3 separate regions of the Homo sapiens genome follow, and all the other regions are linked to region 2. The links are contacts of gene promoters, found by promoter capture Hi-C in blood cells and fetal thymus (Javierre and others, 2016). All regions are on one chromosome and are shown on one strand. The core of a region is centred on a gene start or on the middle of the fragment in contact, and the rest is flanking DNA. Distances in the headings are between cores, read along the strand shown.

Region 1 (3,384 bases), core at 808-3,307, 240 kb after region 2:
TATTTTTTTTTTTAATGGAGTCTTGCTCTGTCGCCACGCTGGAGTGCAATGGCTTGATCTTGGCTCACCGCAACCTCCGCCTCCCAGGTTCATGCAATTCTACCTCAGCCTCCTGAGTAGCTGGGACTATAAGCACCTGCCACCATACCCAGCTAATTTTTTTGTATTTTTTTTAGTAGAGACCAGGTTTCACCATGTTGGCCAGGCTGGTCTTGAACTCCTGACCTCAGGTGATCCACCCACTTTGGCCTCCCAAAGTGCTGGGATTACAGGCATGAACCACCATGCCTGGCCCTAATTTTTGTATTTTAATAGAGATGGGGTTTCACCATGTTGGCCAGGCTGGTCTCAAACCCCTGACCTCAACTTATCCGTCTGCCTCAGCCTCCCAAAGTGCTGGGATTACAGGTGTGAGCCACCATGCCCGACCCCACCCCCTTTTTAAATAAAAATCAGTATCCTCATGACATCCCACATTGCCCCTTTGATGACAAAAGAGCAGCATCTCTGACAGCATCCGTGTGGCATCTCGCAGTGCGGGAACCGTAACCAAAGTATCGGGCTTTGGAGTGAGACAGGACTGGGTTCAGGTCCCAGCTCTGCCACATATAGTCTTGGGCAAGTGGAGTAAGCGCTCTCTGTGCCTCAGTTCCCTCATCTGTAAAATGAGAACGATAGTGCCCACTCCATGGGGTTGGTAGGAACAAAGAAGATTTTGGGCATGTAAAGTTCTTAGTGCCGAGTGCACAGTGGTCTGTAAGTGAAGCTGCGGTTCTTAGTGGTAGAAGGAGCTGATTGATGGCCCTGGCTGAGAACTTTGTGTTCGCTTTTTCCCCTTTTAATTCAGGATCAGTTACAGTTGTGGATTCGAGGCAACGTGAGTGCCTGTGCGAGGTCCATCTTCATATTTGATGAAATGGATAAGATGCATGCAGGCCTCATAGATGCCATCAAGCCTTTCCTCGACTATTATGACCTGGTGGATGGGGTCTCCTACCAGAAAGCCATGTTCATATTTCTCAGGTAAGGTCAGGGCTAGGACATGATGGATGGGCCCCGAGCCCAAGCCTCTGAGCTCCAGGAGAAAACCCTGTCCTTACCCACTGGGATTGTTTTGCAGCAATGCTGGAGCAGAAAGGATCACAGATGTGGCTTTGGATTTCTGGAGGAGTGGAAAGCAGAGGGAAGACATCAAGCTCAAAGACATTGAACACGCGTTGTCTGTGTCGGTTTTCAATAACAAGAACAGTGAGTAGGGCCATCCACCGCCAGTCCCATCTGGTTCCTAATCCTGCACCCTAAGTGTTAAAAGCATCAGGGTCACTGTCAGCATCACCTGGGAGCTGGGTAGAAAGAAATGCAGATTCTCAGTCCCCTTCCGAGTCATGAGGGGAATCTTTGCTGATGAACTCCAGGTAACTTTTATGAACACTAATGTTTGACAAGTGCTGTTTTATTTTTATTTTTCAGATAGTTTTACTCTGTCACCTAGGCTGGAGTGCAGTGGCGTAACCTTGCCTCACTGCAACCTCTGCCTCCCGGGCTCAAGCGATTCTTGTGCCTCAGCCTCCTGAGTAGCTGGGATTACAGGTGCACACCATGCCCAGCTAATATTTGTATTTTTAGTAGAGATGGGGTTTTGTCATGTTGGCCAGGCTGGTCTTGAACTCTTACCTCAGGTGATCCGCCCACCTCGGCCTCCCAAAGTGCTGGGATTACAGGCGTGAGCCACTGTGCTCAGCTTATTTTTTGAGACAGAGTCTCACTCTGTCACCCAGGCTGGAGTCCAGTGGTGTGATCTCAGCTCACTGGAGTCTTGACTTCCTAGGCTCAAGTGATCCTCCAGCCTCAGCTTCCCATGTAGGTGGAACCACAGGCTTGCGCCACCATGCCTGGCTAATTTTTTTTTTTTTTTTTTTTTTTTTTTTTGGTAGAGACTGGGTCTTCCTATGTTTCCCAGGCTGGTCTTGACTTCCTGGACTTAAGTCATCCTCCCGCCTCAGCCTCCCAAAGTGCTGGAATTATAGGCATGAGCTACATACCTGGCCTGCTGTTTTTTTTTTTTTTTTGAGATGGAGTCTCGCTCTGTTGCCCAGGCTGGAGTGCAGTGGCGCGATCTCGGCTCACTGCAAGCTCTGCCTCCCAGGTTCACACCATTCTCCTGCCTCAGCCTGCCGAGTAGCTGGGACTACAGGCACCTGCCACCACACTCGGCAAATTTTTTGTATTTTTAGTAGAAACGGGGTTTCACCATGTTAGCCAGGATGGTCTTATCTCCTGACCTCGTGATCCGCCTGCCTCGGCCTCCCAAAGTGCTGGGATTACAGGCGTGAGCCACCACGCCTGGCCAGTTCCCCCATTTTCTTCAGCTACATGATTTTCTTTGTAGAAGAAAGAGCCAGTGGTTGAGCAAGGAAGGATGCCGTGGGCAGCTCAGGGGGAGAGATGACCTGTTAGTTCCTCCCTTTCTCTGCATTGCCCAAGAGCAACAGCCAAATAGCGGTTCGGCCCTTATTTTGTACTGGGCACCGTGTGAAACAGCCTGCCTGCGGATTTCACTCAGTCTTCACCATACCTCGCAGGGTAGAGACTGAGACTCAGAGATGTGGCAGCTTGCCCAGGGCCATGCAGCCTGTTCGGTATCTCTGATTCTAAAACCTGAGCTTTTAAGTTTTAGCTCACTACTTCTCCAAATGTCATGAGACCTTTGACCTTGAACCTGGGGAGGTGGAAAGCCAGCCTGATGGAGGCTGACTCACTGGCTAAGACCTGTGAGTTGTGCAGGGCTGGCTGTTCAAGTCTTTGCGCTTCAGGTTCTGGAGATGACAAAACAGAAGGGCTCATTTGAAACAGACTTGCCAAGAAATTAATCCTACAGTTAGTGAACAGCATGGGGTACAGTATGTCAGTGTGTGCAAGTGGAATACTACTGAGGAAAGACAAGTATTTTGTAACATGTTGGATAGTTTCTTGCCTTGCCAAAAAACATGAGCACATGCAGTGGAAACTTTAGCCTAATGCTGAGGCAGATGAGCCCCGTGGCCTAGAATCCACGCTGTGGAGGTTACACGGTGCTTAGGAGTGCCAACCTGGGAGTCGGGCAGCCCTGGCCCACAGACTGACTGTGACCTCAGGCAGATGGCTGAACATTGATTCAGCACATGTATATGGAGCATCTGGTAAGTGCCAGGCATCATACCTAGGACGGGGGACACAGCAGTGAACAAACACAGAAATTCTTGCCCTTATCAATCCTACATCCTAGTGATAATAAAGAAAGAAAATGTATCAGATGATGGGGGATAGATATGTTGATGTGTGTGATGTGTTTGTGTGTATACATGCAGTACATATGCACACATCGCACATGTACACATGTGGACA
Region 2 (3,281 bases), core at 629-3,128:
TTAGTAGAGAGGGGTTTTGCCATGTTGGCCAGGCTGGTCTCGAACTCCTGACCTCAGGTGATCCGCCCACCTCGGCCTCCCAAAGTGCTAGGATTATAGGTGTGAGCCACCGTGCCCAGTCAAGCCAGGCTTTTAATTTCATTCTGTATTCTTTAAATTCTACATTAACAAAATACAATGCTTCATAGTTTGCTAAAACAATGTGTTTTTACAAGACAAACTTTCTACAGTTCCACTTCTTTTTTTTTTTTTTTTTGAGACGGAGTCTCGCGCTGTTGCCCAGGCTGGAGTGCAGTGGCGGGATCTTGGCTCACTGCAAGCTCCGCCTCCCGGGTTCACGCCATTCTCCTGCCTCAGTCTCCCGAGTAGCTGGGACTACAAGCGCCTCCCAGGTTCACGCCATTCTCCTGCCTTAGCCTCCCGAGTAGCTGGGACTGCAGGCGCCTGCCACCACGCCTGGCTAATTTTTTTTTTATTTTTAGTAGAGATAGGGTTTCACCGTGCTAGCCAGGATGGTCTCGATCTCCTCACCTCGTGATCTGCCTGCCTCGGCCTCCCAAAGTGCTAGGATTACAGGCGTGAGCCACCGCGCCCCGCCTACAGTTCCACTTCTTAGAAGACTGTATGGTATGAAAATAATGTACAAGAGTTTGGGTCATAACAATTTACTTTTCTATGTCTCTAATTTTGTTTATATGTTTTGAGAAAGGGTCTTGCTCTGTTCCTCAGGCTGGAATGCAATGAGTAATCACGGCTCACTGCAGTCTCAACCTCCTAGGCTCAAGTGATCCTCCAGCCTCAGCCTCCCCAGAAGCTGCAGGCGTTTGCCACCACACCTGGTTAATTTTTAATTTTTTGTAGAGACAGGTTTGGGGAGGGGGTCCTTAGCACGTTGACTAGGCTGGTCTCGAACTCCTGGGCTCAAACAATCCTCCTGCATAGGCCTCCCAGTGTTGGGATTACAGGCATGAGCCACAGCACCTGGACAATTTCCCAGATATAGTAAACTGCTGAACCACCTTAGGGTGCGTTTCAGCCTTAGAGGTCTTTTCTCTGCTAGTTACAAAGCAAGATCCAGAGTATCATTCTAGGTTTATCAAAAATCTCTCTTCCCTAGACAATGGCTGGATAGAGGAAGAAAAAGCAGGCCCTTTGATTAGAGACACACCTTAATGCTGGCTTTACATTCTCAGTCACGTGTTTTAAGCAAGATTTGAAATTCCTTCTCTAGAGTCTCGCTCCAGAGAGCGCCCTAAACCGAAATGGGAAACTGAGGCTAAGGTTCCAAGTACCTTCAAACCGCCGGTACAGTACAAGGGCACAGAAGAGCGGAGACCGCGGACAAGGAAAGCCAGCATAAAAGCTGGAGGGGAGAAAGAAGAAAGGCGATCGGGCTGCCCTGAGTGAGGAATTCAGGGAAGCCAGCAGGGATTTAAGAGCAGCCTCCCGAGTCCGTGGGGGCAACGCCACAGTTCAGCCCCTTCCCCTCCCTCAGCTCGAGTCTTCCCGCCCCGTGCCGGTCAGCCCGAAGACCCCAGCGCCGCCCAGACCCGCCTTCCCCACAGACCCCGCCACCTGTCAGTGAAAGGCCGCAGCCAGGGGCAAAGAGGTGGTCCAGTGGCTCAGAGGTCCCCAATGGGCCAAAGTTGCCCTAAAACCCGGGGAGTGGCCTCGGCCTCCGCCCCCCGGCCCGGCCTTGCCAAGCTTTACCTTGAGTGCCAGGTGATGGACGCGGCCCAGGCCAGGCTCGGCCAGCAACTGCAGCAAACCCAGCATTGGGAGCAGCCGGAGGCCCGCGGCCAGCCTAGGACCGCGGGAGGCGGGGGAGCCGACGGGCGCCAGAGCGGCCATGTTTGTTCCAGCATCACCAGCCGCTTCCTCTCCCGCCCACGTCCGGGGTGAAAGGGCGCAGCCGCCGGAAGGGCCCGGGGAGCGGGGCTCGGCGGCTAGCTCCGCTGACCCTGTGGTCGTTTTCCTGGAGATTGCGACCTAGGAAGTCGTCGAGGAGCCTGTGCTGCCCACCTCGGGGCCCTTCGATCGGCCGCTCCTGTGCAGACTTTCAGTTAGAGATGAAGCCAACCTATTGGCGGTTGCCATAACAACGGTGGCCGAACCAGACCAGCCCGGGCCGCACCTCCGCCTCGCTGAGCTTTGGAAGCGACCTTGGGCTCCGGGGACCCCTGATCTCAGGGTCGGGGGATAAGCTGTGTCAGCCGCACGGTGTCGGGCCACTGATTGAACTGATTTCACTGAGCGTTGACTCGGAGGAAAATATCTAAAAATTCCCGGCTCGCCGTAGGGGTCCTGTGGTTTTCTAGGCGCTTCACACTCAAATACAAGCGAAATGGTTGCAATAATACGATTGATTGAGCCCTTATGAGGCAATTTGTTAGGCCTTTTGTTGTATTTAATTTTTGGAACAATTTGATGAGCTAGGAGGTACGTATTATCATTATTCCTACTTTACAGGTAAGCAAACTGAGGCTCTGAGAAATAAGTCATTTGCTCCAGGTTGAGCTGGGAATCACACGGAAGCTCTTAACTCCTGTGTTCTGTTGCCTCATGCTATTTCATCCAACCCCAAGTCTGGGTCTTAACATTTTTCTCTTAATTCTGTATGGAAACTTTCTTTGCTTCTTTCAGAAATTATAGGAACTTCTTTTTTTTGAGACGGAGTCTAGCTCTTGTCACCCAGGCTGGAGTGCAATGGCACGATCTCAGCTCACTGCAACCTCCGCCTTCTGGGTTCAAGCGATTCTCCTGCCTCAGCCTCTGGAGTAACTAGAATTACAGGCCTGCGCCACCACGCCCGGCTAATTTTTGTATTTTTAGTAGACACGGGGTTTCTCCCATGTTGGCCAGGCTGGTCTCGAACTCCTGACCTCAAGTTATCCTCCCGCCTCGGCCTCCCAAAGTGCTGGGATTACAGGCGTGAGTCACTGCGCCCAACCTGCTTTGGAGTACTTTTTATCTTTTAAAGTTAAGTGGCATCTTTGAAAATCTCTGGTTTTAAATTTGAATATAATACTGTACTAAAAACGAAATGAGGCCTGGCAGGGTGGTGATTCGCGCCTGAATCCCAGCACTTTGGAACGCCGAGGCGGGCGGATCACTTGAAAGTCAGTTGTTCGGGACCAGCCTGGGCAACATGGCAAAACCTCGTCTCTACTAAAAATACAAAAATTAGCGGGGCATCACGGCCGCGCGCCTGTAGTCCCAGCTACTGGGGAGGCTGAGGCAGGAGAAGCACTTGAACCTGGGAGGCAGAGGTTTCAGTAAGC
Region 3 (3,087 bases), core at 73-2,572, 190 kb before region 2:
CCTTCTTGAACCAGGCTAGCATTCATCACAGGCTGTGGCAGAAGCCTGGCACTGTGGCTGCCCAGCATATACACTCCAGGCTCTCATTCATCCCTGTGGAAATGGGTGAAGGATTCTGGTTAGCTTTAGGCTTCTGCCTAGAAATCACTTAAGCAGCATCCAGCTTGTATTAGTTGATCTGATGGACGAGCATGGGGGTAGAATCCGAACCTCAGGGTTCCCTCTGATTCCCTTCCCATGACTGGGAGCTCCCTTTGTTTTTTGCTTTTTGTTTTTTTTGAGATGGAGTCTCGTTCTGTCACCCGGGCTGGAGTGCAGTGGTGTGATCTCGGCCCACTGCAACCTCCACCTCCTGGGTTCAAGCGGTTCTCCTGCCTCAGCCTCCCGACTACCTGAGATTACAGGCACACGCCACCATGCCCAGCTAATTTTTGTATTTTTGGTAGAGGTGGAGTTTCACCATGTTGACCAGGCTGGTCTCGAACTCCTGGCTTCAAGTGATCCGCCTGTCTCAGCCTCCCAAAGTGCTGGGATTACAGGCGTGAGCCACCACGTCTGGCCTGGGAGCTCCCTTTCTCCCTCCTTCCAGGCCAGCACTTGCACCTTCCCCTGCAGGTCCCAGCTCGGGCCCCTGGCATTCCACAGATCTGCCCCTTCTAAGGCAGGAAGGGCCTCTTGATGCCCAACATAGGAATTGGGTCTTCAGAATCCTCAAAGAATAAAGTGGGCACTCCACAATATCACAAAGACTTCCCCTCACCTCTGGGGGCAACCAACAGTCCAGTGACTAAAACGGGACCTACTCTCAGTCATCTGACAATGATACCAAAGGGACTCTTCCCACCCTTCTCCCTGACTGTCAGAAAAAAGCTTGTTTTACTCTTTATCATATTTTTTTATCCCCAAGATCTGCTCATGTGGATGGCTTATTTTAGGTTTCTGGGAGGAAGGGAGCAATTTCTGAGGAAGGAAATTGTAGAGACAAGAAAAGGTCTGGTCCCCAAGTCTTGAAACCCCTGGCAGAATCCTTCCTGAGCTCAACCCTAGGCCAGCCTGCCCAGTCCCCTTCCTGTGGTTACCCAGTGAAAACCCAACTGGCCCGGTCCTCAGGGGCTGCCCTGGGCTCCCCAATAACCTAGAGCCTCTAGGTCCCTAGTGCTTCTGCAAAAGAAAGTCTTTCCCACAGGAGTCCCTCTGGCTGGGACCCTCAGTCCCCTGAGCCCTTGGAGGAGGAGGGCATATTGGGACAGGAAGAGGGAAAAGGCAGAAGACGGGTGGGAAAGGCATGAGCAAGCAGTAGTTACACCAGCACATGGCACTGTATGGTTGTTTATTAAGTCACTTTGGCAAACATTGAGAGTTTCGATGCAAACATTTGCAGGTGGCATCAGGTCATTGAAAGCGACCCAGCAGATCACTGGGTACATTAGGGAGAATATAAATTGGGCTGTTGACACAGAGACTCAGGATGGCTTAATCAAGATAAATGTGTGTCTCTCTTCCTCCTAAGAGCTCCAGTGTAAATGGTCCAAAGCTGGTGTGGCAGCTCCATGGGGTCAAAGACCCAGTTCTAGGAAGGCTTGTTTCAGAGTCCTCCATCCAGTCAGCAGGAAGAGGGAAGAGGGAAAGTTATGCTCATTGTTCTCATCCTATTGGATAGAACTGGGTCACATGGCCGCACTCAGCCACAAGGGAGGCTGGGAAATGTAGTCCTTTGTTCCACATGGCCCTGTGCCCAGCTAAAAAGAGATAAGGGGAAGAAGTAGAAAGCTTTTCCATACCTACACAAGCTCATTTTGCCTAAGTTCAGGGGGCCTTCCCAGCCCCTTTCCATGCCCACTGTCCTGAACCAGTTCCTCCAGACCAATGAACCTGGAGGGTAAGTTTCTGCCTCTGTACTCCCTGGGCAGGAAGATGGCAGGGAGGAGGGGGCCACTGTAGGGCAGGGATCCACATTGCATTCCCACTCCCAGCCCGACTCCCTACTCTTCTCCTTGTCATCTCCTCTGTATGCCTGGGGATGCCCTGAGCTGGGCTTTGGGGAGTACAATTTAGAGAGATACTTTCTAATATGCAGATGTGAGTTTGGGGCTTGGCAGGGTCAGTGGGGACAGGGTGGAAGGCCCGAGGTGGGGAGAAATGGGACCTCTAGGATGGTCCCTCTAGGAGGACTCACTGGTGCTATCACACCCAGGGAATAGCAGCCAATCTGAGCCATCCTGATAAAGCAGGTGGCCAGGTCTGTGCCTCTACTGAGCTTCAGCCCACAGTAAGCCATCCAGCGCAGGCTGGGCCAGGGGGTGAGTCAGCACAGGCTTTAGCCTGACTCGAGCAGAGCAAGGGACCATGACCCATCATGTGCCCTCAGCAACACCATTTCTGAACCGTGGTCCCTGTAGGCACCACGCCCAAGGCTGCTGGAAAAGACCTGAGCTTCCTCCACCAACAGCTCACCCCCGTTCAAGCTCACCCTCTGCTGGAAACATTGCCCCAGCTGCCCTCACAACGGCCTTCTGAACCAGAGCTTGGTATTTCCAAAGACAGGCGCCCGTGCACAGATTTACTTTCAGTGCTTCGGTGGAAACAGCACATTGTGTGGGTATGTAAATTACCTCCAATCTCTGCCTCAGGGACAGTCCCCAAGTGTGTGAAACAGTCTAGTCAGGAATCAGCCCTCCAGAGGGTGTCATATTAGCATTTTAAATATGTACTTTTATTAAAACCTACACCACAGATTTTATCCACACAAAGGATGTTAGAAGTCCCTTTTCATAGAAGTGTAATGTGGTGAAGATACATGCTTGGCTACAAAGATTTTCAGAGCTCAGCACTGTGCACCACAAGGGAAGAGCAGCAAGCAGCCTGGTGCTTCAGGACTGTGCTCAGGGGCAGGGCTCCTGGGGTCCTGGGGCCCCCACCCCCTGGATGGACAGGTACAGGTGCCTGCCTGTCTTTGTACTTACTTGACAGTGAATATCTGGACTTCTGGCAGAATTTGATCTAATACCTGCCTTCATTGCAACATTCCACCTCTGGCGAGGTTGTGGGGCAGGGGCTGTCGAGCCATCGCCTGCCTCTCATTGAGGG

The links. The method cuts DNA at HindIII sites, captures the fragments that hold promoters and counts their contacts. A CHiCAGO score of 5 or more calls a contact.
Region 1: a fragment that was not itself captured here is called in contact with the fragment with the promoter of GPR107 in region 2 in 3 of 17 cell types (naive CD4 T cells, activated CD4 T cells and naive CD8 T cells); the score reaches 6.4 in naive CD4 T cells.
Region 3: a fragment that was not itself captured here is called in contact with the fragment with the promoter of GPR107 in region 2 in 1 of 17 cell types (erythroblasts); the score reaches 5.1 in erythroblasts.

Annotation. Positions count from the first base shown.
Region 1 is chr9:129,816,384-129,819,767 of GRCh38, reverse strand. TOR1A (torsin family 1 member A) reads left to right here. Exons shown (of 5, transcript NM_000113.3): 3 at 848-1,023; 4 at 1,121-1,248. Among named protein-coding and RNA genes, the nearest start is that of TOR1A, 6.1 kb to the left of the region's middle. The HindIII fragment of the contact is 9,361 bases long and covers 1-3,384 here.
Region 2 is chr9:130,052,503-130,055,783 of GRCh38, reverse strand. It overlaps GPR107 (G protein-coupled receptor 107), which reads right to left and starts at 1,878. Exons shown (of 18, transcript NM_020960.5): 1 at 1,711-1,878. The coding sequence starts at 1,851. It also overlaps a transcript of FNBP1 not described here. RefSeq lists a silencer at 1,581-1,890. The HindIII fragment of the contact is 2,204 bases long and covers 1,707-3,281 here.
Region 3 is chr9:130,239,371-130,242,457 of GRCh38, reverse strand. It overlaps MIR12126 (microRNA 12126), which reads right to left and starts at 1,071; the gene lies at 970-1,071. RefSeq lists enhancers at 1,534-1,828, 2,350-2,529, 2,610-2,789. The HindIII fragment of the contact is 900 bases long and covers 873-1,772 here.